2 separate regions of the Homo sapiens genome follow, and region 2 is linked to region 1. Evidence: promoter capture Hi-C in 16 types of primary human blood cells and fetal thymus (Javierre and others, 2016). All regions are on one chromosome and are shown on one strand. The core of a region is centred on a gene start or on the middle of the fragment in contact, and the rest is flanking DNA. Distances in the headings are between cores, read along the strand shown. Region 1 holds the start of CYP27C1 (cytochrome P450 family 27 subfamily C member 1). Region 2 overlaps IWS1 (interacts with SUPT6H, CTD assembly factor 1).

The links. Contacts are between HindIII fragments. The CHiCAGO score rates a contact against its expected background, and 5 or more counts as called.
Region 2: a contact is called between a fragment that was not itself captured here and the fragment with the promoter of CYP27C1 in region 1, in 1 of 17 cell types (endothelial precursors). The highest score is 5.2, in endothelial precursors.

The regions. Positions count from the first base shown.
Region 1 is chr2:127,217,872-127,224,626 of GRCh38, forward strand. It overlaps CYP27C1 (cytochrome P450 family 27 subfamily C member 1), which reads right to left and starts at 2,428. Exons shown (of 9, transcript NM_001367502.1): 1 at 2,118-2,428. The coding sequence starts at 2,399. The HindIII fragment of the contact is 10,532 bases long and covers 1-2,922 here.
Region 2 is chr2:127,479,928-127,486,158 of GRCh38, forward strand. It overlaps IWS1 (interacts with SUPT6H, CTD assembly factor 1), which reads right to left. Exons shown (of 14, transcript NM_017969.3): 14 at 885-1,248. The coding sequence ends at 1,117. Among named protein-coding and RNA genes, the nearest start is that of IWS1, 43 kb to the right of the region's middle. RefSeq lists an enhancer at 1-831. The HindIII fragment of the contact is 201 bases long and covers 2,633-2,833 here.

The DNA.
Region 1 (6,755 bases), core at 1,178-3,677:
TAGAACCATGTGTTCGAAATTGGGAGTCCTCAGAGGGGCTGCAGGAAGGTGAGAGTCCCCACAAGTACCATATTTGAGGGTTGGGGTAGTGCCACCTGGAGAGTAAAGGGAAAGAACTTTTTCCTTTATTTCTTTTACTCTCCAGGTCCTGTGTGCGCTTGGTGAGAAGGCAGCAAGTGAGTCAGTTGTGACTCTCTGCTCCGTGCCCCAGGGCCCTGGGTGTGGTGAAGGAAGCTGTCTGAGCAGTGGGCAGGAGGGGCTGAGCTCAGGGTGAGGGCTGGCGGCAGGGGCGGGTGAATGGAAAATACCCATCTGAACTGCCACACATCCTGACTGGATACAGGCTTTAACACGGTCCGTCTCAAAGAAACCTGTGCCCATGGAACAAACTCTGGGTGAGGTATGAGGATAAAAGCAGATGGCAGTAGGGGCGGATAAAAGAAAAATTAAATTACACTTCAGAAAGCAGGCTGTATTGAACCCATCAACAGCAAATAACAAAACACTTTTTACTGTATTTGAAAGTTGCCATCCTGATATCTTATCAGATCCTACAAAGAAAATCATTTTTGAGCCCTCTAAGCATTGGGGTGGGGGTGGCGGTTTGGAACTGTATAGGGTTGGCGTGGCGGACTTGAGGAGGGACGGTTGGGACTTCCTGGCATTAAAATTAAATTAAATTTTAATTCCCGGCCGAATTAAAATTGCTCCTCGCACGCCCGTTTTTCCATTAATGAGGGTTGGGGCTTCTCCCTCACGTTCATTGACTGAATGGCTGATGGAACGAATGAATGACTGAAGCCCAGGTGGGTAGTTAGAAGAGGCTTCGATGGAGAAGGGTCTCGAAAGACCGGAACTCTGGGCAGAAGGACAGGCCTGGGTGGGAGGAGAAGGGGGCGTTCTCGGAAGACACCAAAAGCCCCCATACCAGAAATAACAGTGCGTGCTGGGCCGGGCACCCGGGGAGGCGGACGATGGGCGAAGGCATCGGAGGGCGCCGCCGCGGCTCGGGTGCAGTGCCCCTGCCACGAAGGGCGCAACGGAGGTGGGCGTGGGAAGGACAGCACTCAGGCTCCAAGTGGGAAGCGTGCGGAATTCGCCGGCCCCAACGCCCTAGCGGGTGGCTGGGACCCCTGGGTTCCTCCCACGTCCCTGCCTCCAGTCCCGGCGCGAACTCCAGGTGTCGCCCCCAACTCCGGCTTAGAGCCTACGGCACCCCGAGCCTCCGAGCCTCCGTCCCCTCTTCCCCCGCCATTACAAAATACAAAAAGGACTAGAAATGAATACACACGGTCTCGGCCACCTAAGGACACCGAGCTCCGCAGAGCCTAGAGGAGCTAGGGAACCTAGCGCTCCCCTCGGGCCGGCCCCAGGCAGCAGCCCCCCTCAGCCCCAACTCCGCGGGTCCCGCCAGCTCTCCACTCCCAGGCCCCGGCGGCGTCCACCAGGCGCCCGCTGCCCCTCCCCAAGTCTCCTCCTCCGGGACCTCAGCCCTGGTGCCCTCCCCGCAGTCCCATTCCTGGTTTCCCTTCGCGGCGCCCCCTCCCCAGGTTCCCCAACCAGGCAATCCCTGCCTGGGTCCCTCCCCGGGACCAGTCCCTGGAGACCCTGCCCGCCGCCTCTCTCGGGCTACCACTCTCCGAAACTCCATCCCTGACTCCCCTCCCCGCTACCTCCTCCCCAGGGGTCCCGGCTGGGGCCCCTCCAGGGGACCCCTCCCTGCCGCCACCTCCCGAGACACCCATTTCCCCCGCCTCTTCCCAGCCGTTCCTTTCTGGCCCCGTTCCTCAGCTCCCTCTGCCTGCTGCCCCTCTCCGGGGTCCGCTTCCCGAAGACCCCTCCCCAACGCCCCCGCCCCGCTCCCGGTTCCTGCCTCCTCCACCCCGGATCGCCTTTCCGGCGTCCTCTCCCCAGCGCCCCTTCCTGCGAACCTTAACCGGACAACCCCAGTCCAGCTCCCCCAACCCACCGCGGCGCCCAGTGCCCGGGGATCCCTGCCCGCCGCCCCTCCCTGGGACTCCCCAACCCCGCGCCCCTCCCTGGCGCCCTCCCGCCCGCGCCGTCAGCCTTCTGGGCAGCAGCCCGGGCTGGCTCCCTCCCGGGGCGGCGCGCGCTACCTGGATCTCGTGGATGCGGCTGAAGCCGTCCCTGCAGAAGAACTCCGCCAGGTTGGCGAGGGTCCTCGGCCCCGGCATGGCGGCGAGGCTCCGGGGACCCTCGGCTCGGCCCCCTCCCGGCGGCGACCCCGGCCGCCCGGCGCCTTTGTCCTCGGCCCGCGCCCCCGCCGGGAGCCGTGCGCCCGCGGGTTGAGGCCGCCGCGGGGCCCCGCCGCCCAGGAGCCCACCCCGCTCGGGCGCCGGCCGCAGCCCGGCTCTCAGGATCCGCGCCAGCAGGGCCATGGCGCTCGTCTGCATCGGCTTGTTTGTCTGAGCAACTTTGTTTCGGGGGCTGCTCTTTGGGTTGCTGTTTCCTGCGTCTTAACTTGTCAGAGCAGTGCTTCTCCGTACTCCTGCCGCCGGGGCGTCAGTTTACACAGACCCTTATTAAAGGCTCCCTCCCCTGGGGCTGGGGAAAAGGCTGTGATTAGACTGCAAGAGAATGAGGCTATTATTATTTCTTCACATCATATTAATTCACACTTAAGCGTTCCTTGAAACCACCAAGTTTTAAGGTCAACCCCACTTCCAACCATGGCCAAAAAAAGAAAAGTCTACGGGGATCTTGTAAATTATTACCGTCCTTCGAAATGACTACTGAAGGTATACTGAAGAAATCTTTGGTCTTTTTTGCATTTTAGAAGCAGTTCTTTATGGTTTCAACTTAAATTATTGTAACTCAACTTTCAAAGGGGGGGAAAAAAGTGAGACGATTTTGCATGTAGTTCCTACTGTTGTAAAATGACCACATTATTATCTTGCCACAAGCTTTCTTAAAGACAATCACAGTCGTTTACGATGGCTTTCCTCGGGCTCATCGCTTTTATTCCGCACACCATTGGAAGCAGTGAGGACTAGGTGAGGGTGAGCGACTTTGAGCATGGGGCGTTTATCTGGTCCCTCACAAGGACGGGTCCTGTTGCACAAGGCTTGGGGAAGAGAAGCCACCTCCATGCCGAGGCGAGGAGAGGAGTCCGCCAACCTAGACTCAGAGCCCAGTGCCTGGCTGCACAAAGAAGTGGCCGCACAGGGAGGGATGGAGCACGGGAAAGGCCAGAGGTGTGCCATGTGGTTTCAAGGAAGGGAACTTTTTCCTAGTCAGTAGTTAAACTGCTCGCTGAGTTACATTATTTGAAGATTTCATACCGTTGGTACTCATGCATCTAAACGTAAAAAATAAGATTTTTTTCCGTTTACAACGTATTGTTACTAAGCATTTTTTTTTTTTTTTTTTTTTTTTTTGAGACAGTCTCGCTCTGTCACCAAAGCTGGAGTGTAATGGCGCGATTTCGGCTCAGCAACCTCCGCCCCCAGGGTCCTAGCGATCCTCTTACCTCAGCCTCCCGAGTAGCTGGGATTACTGACGCTGTAATCTTGAAAAAAAAAAAATGCTGCCGCGCCCGGCCAACATTTATTTTTTAAGAGCAGAGAGGGAGGTTCAGGCCTGTAGTCCCAGAACTTTGAGAGGCCGAGGTGGACGGATTACTTGAGTTCAGGAGTTCGAGACCAGCCTGGCCAACATGGTGAAACCCCATCTCTACTAAAAATATAAAAAATTAGCCAGGCGTGGTGGCACGCGCCTGTAATCCCAGCTACTCGGGAGGCTAAGGCAGGAGAATCGTTTGAACCCAGGAAGTGGAGGTTGCAGTGAGCTGATCTCGCCATTGCACTCCAGCCTGGGTGACAGCAAGACTCCATCTCAACAACAACAACAAAAAAGAGCAGGCCGGGCGCGGTGGCTCACGCCTGTAATCCCAGCACTTTGGGAGGCCGAGGCAGGCGGATCACGAGGTCAGGAGATCGAGACCATCCTGGCTAACACGGTGAAACCCCGTCTCTACTAAAAGTACAAAAAAATTAGCCTGGCGTGGTGGTGGGCGCCTGTAGTCCCAGCTACTCGGGAGGCTGAGGCAGGAGAATGGCGTGAACCCGGGAGGTGGAGCTTGCAGTGAGCCGAGATCTTGCCACTGCACTGCAGCCTGGGCGACAGAGCGAGACTCCGTCAAAAAAAAAAAAAAAAAGAGCAGAGAGGGGTCTGGCAGTGTTGCCCAGGCTGGAGTGCAGTGGCTATACACAGGCACTATCACTGGGCACTACACCTTCCAACTTCTGGGCACTACACCTTCCAACTTCTGGGCTCAAGCCATCTCCAACCTCAGCCTCCCAAGGAGCTGGGAGTACGGGCACATGCCACCATGCCCAGATAAAAATATTTTATTTTATTTTTTAGACACTGGGTCTCACTATGTTGCCCAGGCTGCCCTTGAACTCCTGGGCTCAAGCGATCCTCCCCCTGAGTAACTGGCATTACAGGTGCAGGCCACCGGCTCAGCTAAATATTTTATTTTTAATGAGTAGTTTATACCTTTACAACTCTGTAAAATCTACACTGCATTTGAATAATTGAAGTATCACGTAAGTGACGCAAAGAAGGCTATAGTTACTCAACTTACAGAATTTGATTAATAACACCAGGTGCGGTGGCTCACGCCTGTAATCCCAACAATTTTGGAGGCCACAGCAGGAGGATTGCTTCAGCCCAGGAGTTCAAGACCAGCCTGGGCAACATAGCAAGACCTGGATACTACAAAAAATAAAAATAAAAAAATTAGCTGGGTGTGGTGGTGTGTGCCTATAGTCCCAGCTACTCAGGAGGCTGAGGCAGGAGGATTGCTTGAGCCCAGAAAGTCAAGACTTCAGTGAGCCATTATCATGCCACTGTGCTCCAGCCTGGGCAACAGAGCAAGACCCTGTCTGTAAAAAAAGAAAAGAATTTGATTAATAAGTACTCAGCAACTCTTATTTATTTATTTATTGAGACGGAGTCTGGCTCTGTCGCCCAGGCAGGAGTGCAGTGGAGCAATCTTGGCTCACTGCAAGCTCCGCCTCCCAGGTTCACGCCATTCTCCTGCCTCAGCCTCTGGAGTAGCTGTGACTACAGGCACCCGCCACCACGCCCGGCTAATCTTTTGTATTTTTAGTAGAGACAGGGTTTCACTGTGTTAGCCAGGATGGTCTCGATCTCCTGACCTCGTGATCCGCCTGCCTCAGCCTCCCAAAGTGCTGGGATTACAGGCTTGAGCCACTGCACTCGGCCCTTGCAACTCTTAATTATAAGGCATGATAGCTGCAAAGTACTCAGTAAGACTTTGATCCTGCCTTTAGGAGGCCATAACCTATTTGAAGAATAAAACAGGTACACAAATACAAGCCAGATTACTATAAGTGTCACAAAACTGGACTGAATATGATTGGAATTTGTGGCAAGAAGCGATCACATCTAGTTATAGGGTAGGATGGAGCAGTGCAAAAGAAAGTCCTCCTGAAGGAAGTAGCACTCAGGCAGGGATTGAGGAAAGGAGCCGTTTAGCAGGCAGAAGTGGGTGGCAACACGGCTAGCCAGCAGAGGATGAAGAATGGCACAATCGCCTTGCTCTAGGAGAGGCTTTTAAAGTTTTGCAGAGGGCTACTGGTCCTTAAGAAATCATTAAAGGACCGCATATGTAGAAGTCAATTCATTCCATTCTGGACGTGAAACTATTCAATATAGATAAACAATGATTGATGGTTGTTAAATAATCATATATTAAACTGTTCAATATAGGTAAACAATGATTTTAAAGGCAGCTGGTTCTCTATGAAGGCTAATTAAGGAAAAGACTGCAGTAAAGAAAGGAAGGAAGAGGAGAAGGAAGAATACAGAGAAAGACAGGGGGAAGAAAGATTTAAACACACATGGAGACAGGCTTCTCTGGAGCTCCCTGCAGCTCCCCCGCTCTCCTGTGTCTTAGGATATCATCTCTGCTGATGTCTGAAGCTAGTTTCCATAATTAAATAAATAAACAAAGATAGTAGTTCTTGAAATTTGCCTCAAGCTCTAATGATATTAAGCCTAAGGCTTTTTTTTTTTTTAATTATACTTTAAGTTGTGGGATATATGTGCAGATCGTGCAGGTTTGTTACATAGGTATACTTGTGCCATGGTGGTTTGCTGCACCCATCAACCCATCATCTAGGTTTTATGCCCCACATGCATTAGGTATTTGTCGTAATGCTCTCCATCTGCTTGCCCCACAACCCCCAACAGGCCCCAGTGTGTGATGTTCCCCTCCCCGTGTCCAAGTGTTCTCATTGTTCGACTCCCACTTATGAGTGAGAATATGTAGTGTTTGGTTTTCTGTTCCTATGTTAGTTTGCTGAGAATGATGGTTTCCAGCGTCATCCATGTCCCTGCAAAGGACATGAACTCATTCTTTTTTATGGCTGCATAGTATTGCATCATGTGTAAGTGTCACATTTTCTTTATCCAACACGTCTATTATTGATGGGCATTTGGATTGGTTCCAAGTCTTTGCTATTGTAGATAGTACTGCAATAAATATATGTGTGCATGTGTCTTTATAGCAGAAGGATTTATAATCCTTTAAGCCAAAGGCTATTTTAGAGTGTTAGTACATTGGTATAAGTGATCGGTCTGAAACTCTGCAATAGAGCAGTATGCTGCTTTCTTACTACTGTTTTGTAGGTAATTATTATTAGTGGAAAACATATATGAACCCAGAAATAGAAAAAGTCATCCTGATTGGAAGAATTTCTTTT
Region 2 (6,231 bases), core at 1,483-3,982, 260 kb after region 1:
ATTATCCCAAATAAGAGAAACACATTAATAAGATTTTGTTGGTATTCCATTTCCACCCCAACTGAGGTACTGCAATTCAATTCTGATACGACACACCCAGAGCTGGCATCAGACTCCACGGGTTTAAGAGGTCAGTCCTCCACAATACTGCCCCCACTTCAGATGCAAGCCACAAGTGAGGCATCCAGGCTACTGTCGCTTCTGACCAGCTACAAATTTGGGGTTCTCATAAACCTCTCAGGTTTAAGAACTTGCTGAAATGACTCACAGAACTCAGGAAAGCACTATCCTTCCCTAGAAAACACTATGATTAGTTTTACTACAGAAGATATGAATTAGGAGGGCCAGTCAAATGAAGGGATACATAAGGGAAGGTCTGGGAGGGAAGGCAGAGCTTCTGTGCCCCTGTCCTCATGGAGGGGAATCCTCTCCCTCCCAGCACACCAATGCTTTCACCAACCAAGAAGCGTCATTGAGCTGTGGGGTCCAGAGCTCTTCATCAGGTCCCATTTGGCAGGCATGGTTGATTAAATCAAACAGGTCACTGACTGCGTCTCAATCTCCCGGGTCCTGCTGGCCCAACCCTCTGTAGTAGCTGTTTCTGGTTACCAGCCTCCACCCTAAAGCCCACCATACAGTCACCTCGTTAGCATAACAAGAGACGCTCTATCACTCAGGAAACCACAAGTGTTTTAGACATTCCTTGTCAGCAACCAGGGGCAAAGGCCACACAAATTCCTCATTATACCACAATGAGGGAGGATTGAACCTCTAAGGGTCACAAACCCCTATAATATCATAAGATTTTTTCCCACACAACAAGAAACAATCTTTGCCCCTATTAAGAATGTATCCTCTAAGAAATGAAGAGACAGCCCCCCAAAAACCAGAATGAAATTTTATTGTGTAAAGTTTATAGAAGTATGACTAGTATTCCTTTGTACAAAGTACACAACGGTTTTAAATATAACTGAGAGAAATGTGAGTCCTATGACAACATCTGATACACGCTGAACCATTTACAGACACACTAAAAATGTTTTAAAATATCTTCTTTCTCCAAAGAGTCCATTGCGCATTTCTTAGAGTAGAGATGGGGACACATTCCAGGCAAGGTCACAATGGCATTTTGTTGCCCTCAATGCTGATTTTCACTGCGTGTGCAGATCTGCTTTTTTTCCTTATATCTGTGAACTTTCTCATCTGTTTATCCAGTCGACTGATACCCTTCTTGGAGGTCGCCTGAAACTAAGAGTAAGGGAAAAATTAAAGAGCAAACTACTGAAATACGTAAGTCTAGTTATGTCTTTCATCTTCTTATAACTGAGTTAGCAACCAGAAGAGCTTCTAGCTCTGGAATAACCAGAATGTGTGTTGATGACCTCAAGAACAACAAAGCAAGTATAGATGGTGTTAGAAACGCATATTAAACTCTCTCAGTGAAGAATAATTCTGTTGTCTGTGCTTTATTTTTAATTTTGCTGCAGTCCATGGAGGTCTCCTAGATGGGAGAAAGGGGGGGGGAAACTGAGACTATGATCCTCCCAATTCCATCATGTACATTACGTTTTAACTGCATGCGTTTCCCTTTCGAAGACCAAATGTGGAGCTAGCCGCTTGACATGCACTTTCAAACAGTGCTGGCATAAAAAAGAATGACCTAAAGCAAAGTCAGGTCAGCTGAGAAAAAGCCTTAAGCATAATAAATGAGGTTAGATGATTAGTGAAGTAAACCCCTAAGTGCAGGAGCTCTTGAGTTTTTACACTTGGGGTGAATCCCTGCTCTAATTCAGTAACTTCTGTGACCCTGGGCAAAGCATACCCAGGGTAGGTACTCCTTCCAGAACTGCTGAGAGAAGGAAATGAGATAGTGATGTCAGATCCAAGCACAGAGGCTGAGCACATATAGTCAGTGCTCAAAATAATAGGAGCTATTACTATTTTACTACTTCACAAGCAACTAGATTTACATTAAGTATACTTGACACAAAAAGAATATTAAGTCTTTACCCATTTGCCCTTCATGTTTAAAGGTTTGGTTTGGGGGCTATTTTATATTTTGAAAATACTGCCTTGCAAAGATGTGGTCTCCAAGAAACTGCCATCTTTTAGAAATGCTAGAAAGGTTTGCTGACTCTGTTGTAAAACAATTCAGATGTTTAAGAATGATGACTGCTTAAAAAGAGATGGGTTTTTCTAATTCTTCTCCCCATACATTTACTACTGAATCACCTCTGAAACTCAATTCAAAAGAATGCTAAAATAAGGTAGGGCCTGGGAGACACTCTGGGGTCAGTACCAGCCTGGTGAGCTTTGGTGGAATCTTATCCCACCTGTGGACCCAGCCTCAACTATGACATGAAGCCAGCTGAGCACTAGGCAAGGAACTCTAAGTCATTCTTGACCAAGAGCCATGTTGACCTGTCTTTCTAGGAATATCTCAATTCAAATATTATTCTGTATCGTCTCAATACTTGGCATTCGTACTCTGAGTAAGCATAAAAAGTGTCAGATGAGAAAGAGCTATGCCACCATCACACTATCTCCCAGATTTCCTGGACAGTCCCAAATATCTGACTTCCTTTTAGAGGATGTGCCGTGATCTTAGTACTTGTACTTGGTCCACATCGGAAGCTTTACCTGCTCAAATCTCTGCCAACTACACAATTCCCAGCAGCTTCACACATTAACTGGACTTCCCTTCGCCTACTCCCAGGACCCTCACTAACTGTCTAAGCCCTGATGGATCTGTCTAGCCTCAGCAATCAGGGCACACACGGGCCAGTGGGTTACAAAATATATGACTGGTAGTTGCAGATGCCTACTTACCCCAAGCTTGAAAAGACAGACCAGAGTACCTCATACACCAAGTTCAATGATCTCTCTCCTGATTCATCAAGGGAACGCTACACTTCCTTAGAAATTAAGAGTGTGTGCTACACTGCTTTACCAGAGCAAGGCCAAAAGCAGCTTCAATTATGGTACAACTGTGTGAAGACACAATGCAAAACCACTCAAGAATGCTCACTCAAATGGATTTTTACCATGGTAAGTAAAAAACAAACCCAATAAGGTATAAAAGAATACAATCACAATGTCGCTTGAAAAAAAAACAAAAAACAAAACAAAAACCCAGTAATTGTCTATGCATATGTATGAAAAAAAAAGAAATAATTTAAAATGTTAACATTAAGTTGTGGTGGGATTACAGATGGCATTAATTTTATTTATGCTTTCTGTATTTTTAAAAGTTCATGAAAAAATAGGCATTCCTTTGTCATTTTACTGTTATTTTAGAAGTATTCCACGGAGTAAATGAACATATAAAAAATACAATGTAGCACAGGTTACTACATTATTTAGGAGTAAAAAATCAGAAATCATAAACGAACGAATAAACACATTATATTCATGGCCGGGTGTGGTGGCTCCCGCCCGTAATCCCAGCACGCTGGGAGGTCAAGGCCAGAGGATCGCTTGAGACCAGCCTGAGCAAGATGGTGAAACCATCTCTACAAAGAAAGAAAATACATAATAAAAAAAAAAGCAAATTATATTCAGGATAGACCATTATGCAGCCATTAAAAATGATAAATCGACTAGGTGGTTTAATGAAGGAAAATAACCAAAATTATAATTTGGTCGGGGCGGGGGGTGGTGGGGTGGGGGGGTTGGGCTGTGTGTGTGTGTGTGTGTGCGTGTGCGTGTGTGTGTGTGTGTGTTTTCTAGAGATAGGGTCTCACCTAGGCTGGAGTGCAATGGCATGATTCTAGCTCACTGCAGCCTCAAACTCCTGGGCTCGAGTGATTCTCCTACCTCACCCTCCCAAGTAGCTAGGACTACAGATGTATGCCACCATGCCCGGCTAATTTTTTAATTTTTTGGTAGAGATGGAGTCTTGCTATGTTGTCCAGGCTGATATTTAGTATAATTTTAATTAACGTTATCAGTAGAAAAAAGACAACAAATACATCAAACTGCTTTTGAATGCTAGGACCATGAATAATGTTTCTCTTTGTACTTAAACATTTTCTATAATTATAAAAACTAAGTTCAAGGCATATCTGGAAATACATTTAAAACCTCAAATTGTTAGCCGGGCATGGTGGCTCACACCTGTAATCCCAGCACTTTGGGAGGCCGAGGCGGGCAGATCACTAGAGGTCAGGAGATCAAGACCATCCTGGCTAACACAGTGAAACCCCATCTCTACTAAAAATACAAAAACAAAGTTAGCCAGGTGTGGTGGTGGGCGCCTGCCCTAGTCCCAGCTACTCAGGAGGCTGAGGCGGGAGAATGGTGTGAACCCGGGAGGCAGAGCTTGCAGTGAGCAGAGATTGCACCACTATGCTCCAGCCTGGGCGACAGAGTGAGACACCGTCTCAAAAACAAAAACAAAAACAAAAAACAAAAAACCCTATTTATTTTTTATATTTATTTACATAACTTTGAAAACAAAAATGATACTTAAGACAAAAAGTGTTTCATTGGAAACCCATTTCCATTTCTTTTCCTGGACATGTCTTTTCTAATACTGCTCATTAGCGTCTACAATGTGGAAGCAAGTCCTGAGTGAATATGCAACCCTGCTCCACCTATGGGGAAGTGGGACCAGAACCAGAAACATCAGCACACAGGGACACAGCCCTGGAAACACAACCTCTGCTTTCAAAGCAGATTGGCCACTAAGAGTTTTTATTACCTATTTTCTTTGCCATATTGTAGTTCCCAATTCTCAAAAATAAAAATGTTAAGAGAAATATGAAAGACGGCTAAAAAGAGAGAAGAAACAATGAAAAAGGAGATGGCTCATGCCTGTAATCCCTTTGGGAGGCCGAGGCGGGTGGATCACGAGGTCAGGAGATCAAGACCATCATGGCTAACAGGATGAAACCCCGTCTCTACTAAAAATACAAAAAATTAGCCGAGCATGGTGGCAGGAGCCTGTAGTCCCAGCTAACTGGGAGGCTGAGGCAGGAGAATGGTGTGAACCCAGGAGGCGGAACTTGCAGTGAGTGGAGATCGCACCACTGCACTCCAACCTGGGCGACAGAGCAAGACTCCGTCTCAAAAAGAAAAAGAAAAAGAAAAAGAAAAAGGACAGAAGGGCAAAAAAGAAACAGGTACAGGGGACATGGAGAGGTGGTCAGGGACACGGATATGGGCACAAGAAAGAGGAGGGAGAGAGAGAGGAGGAAGTTCTTGGCACAGAACTAGTCCTTCTCTACCCTCGATTTATTCTCAAGAAATAAGAAAGTACGTTTTGTTTTGATAGTCACTTAATAGCAACATGAACTGGCAGGTAGGAGAGTGGAGTCAGTGGAAACAGCTGCCAAAGCAGGGGTCATGGAGAAGAACCATAGGCAGGCAACACACACACACTGTGTGTGCTCCGCAACAAAGGTGCCATTAGTCTCAAAGCATAGTGGATCAGTGAGTTGGGCTTATGAATGTTCCCAAGTCTTTTCCACTTCTGACCACATTTTGAGTATGTGTTAATCAAATTCATCTCCTAAATATTTAGTATAAGGCTTTATGTAATGAGTTCTCAAATGCATGTTGCTGAGCCACTGACAGCAGGAAACAAGCTACCTCCCACCAGGAAACCACTAACTAGTTTATATGCCTGTAACACATATCACTGTAATTCTGGGTCCTAACAAAAACCTTTTTCATAAAAACGGGTACCAGTCAGGAAGACCCAAATGCATATTAGGGAAGTAATTATCTATTACTCTCTAGGATACTGATAAAGGAAGGGACTTCCATGTCAATTTCTAAATATTCAAGAGGCCTTGAATATCCCAAGGTGCCTGTTAGGGTCATTATTTTGAAACTAAAAGCAGACCTGGCCTCTTCTGATTAAGAAAGCACACACACACACACTTTTCACTCTGACTGTTGACAATTCAAGCCCATGCACAGTACATGCTTCCTTGGGAATACCTCTCGTGTATATACTCTGGTAGGGCCAGGCCTATAGGGGCATCCTGTTGCCTTCAATGCTGAACTTGACAGCACGATGCACTTTGCTGAGTCGTTTCTGTTCTGCAAATCGCCTCTTATGCTTTTCCAATCGGCTTAGGCCCTTTTTAAGAATACCAGGCTAGAAGTAGTAGTTTGATTGGAGAATAAAAAGAGATTACTGAGAAACACTGAAGATCCACTGAGCAGTATTTACAATGATAACAGAATAAGTGTCTACCCTAATCATTTGCAATGGAATTGCTT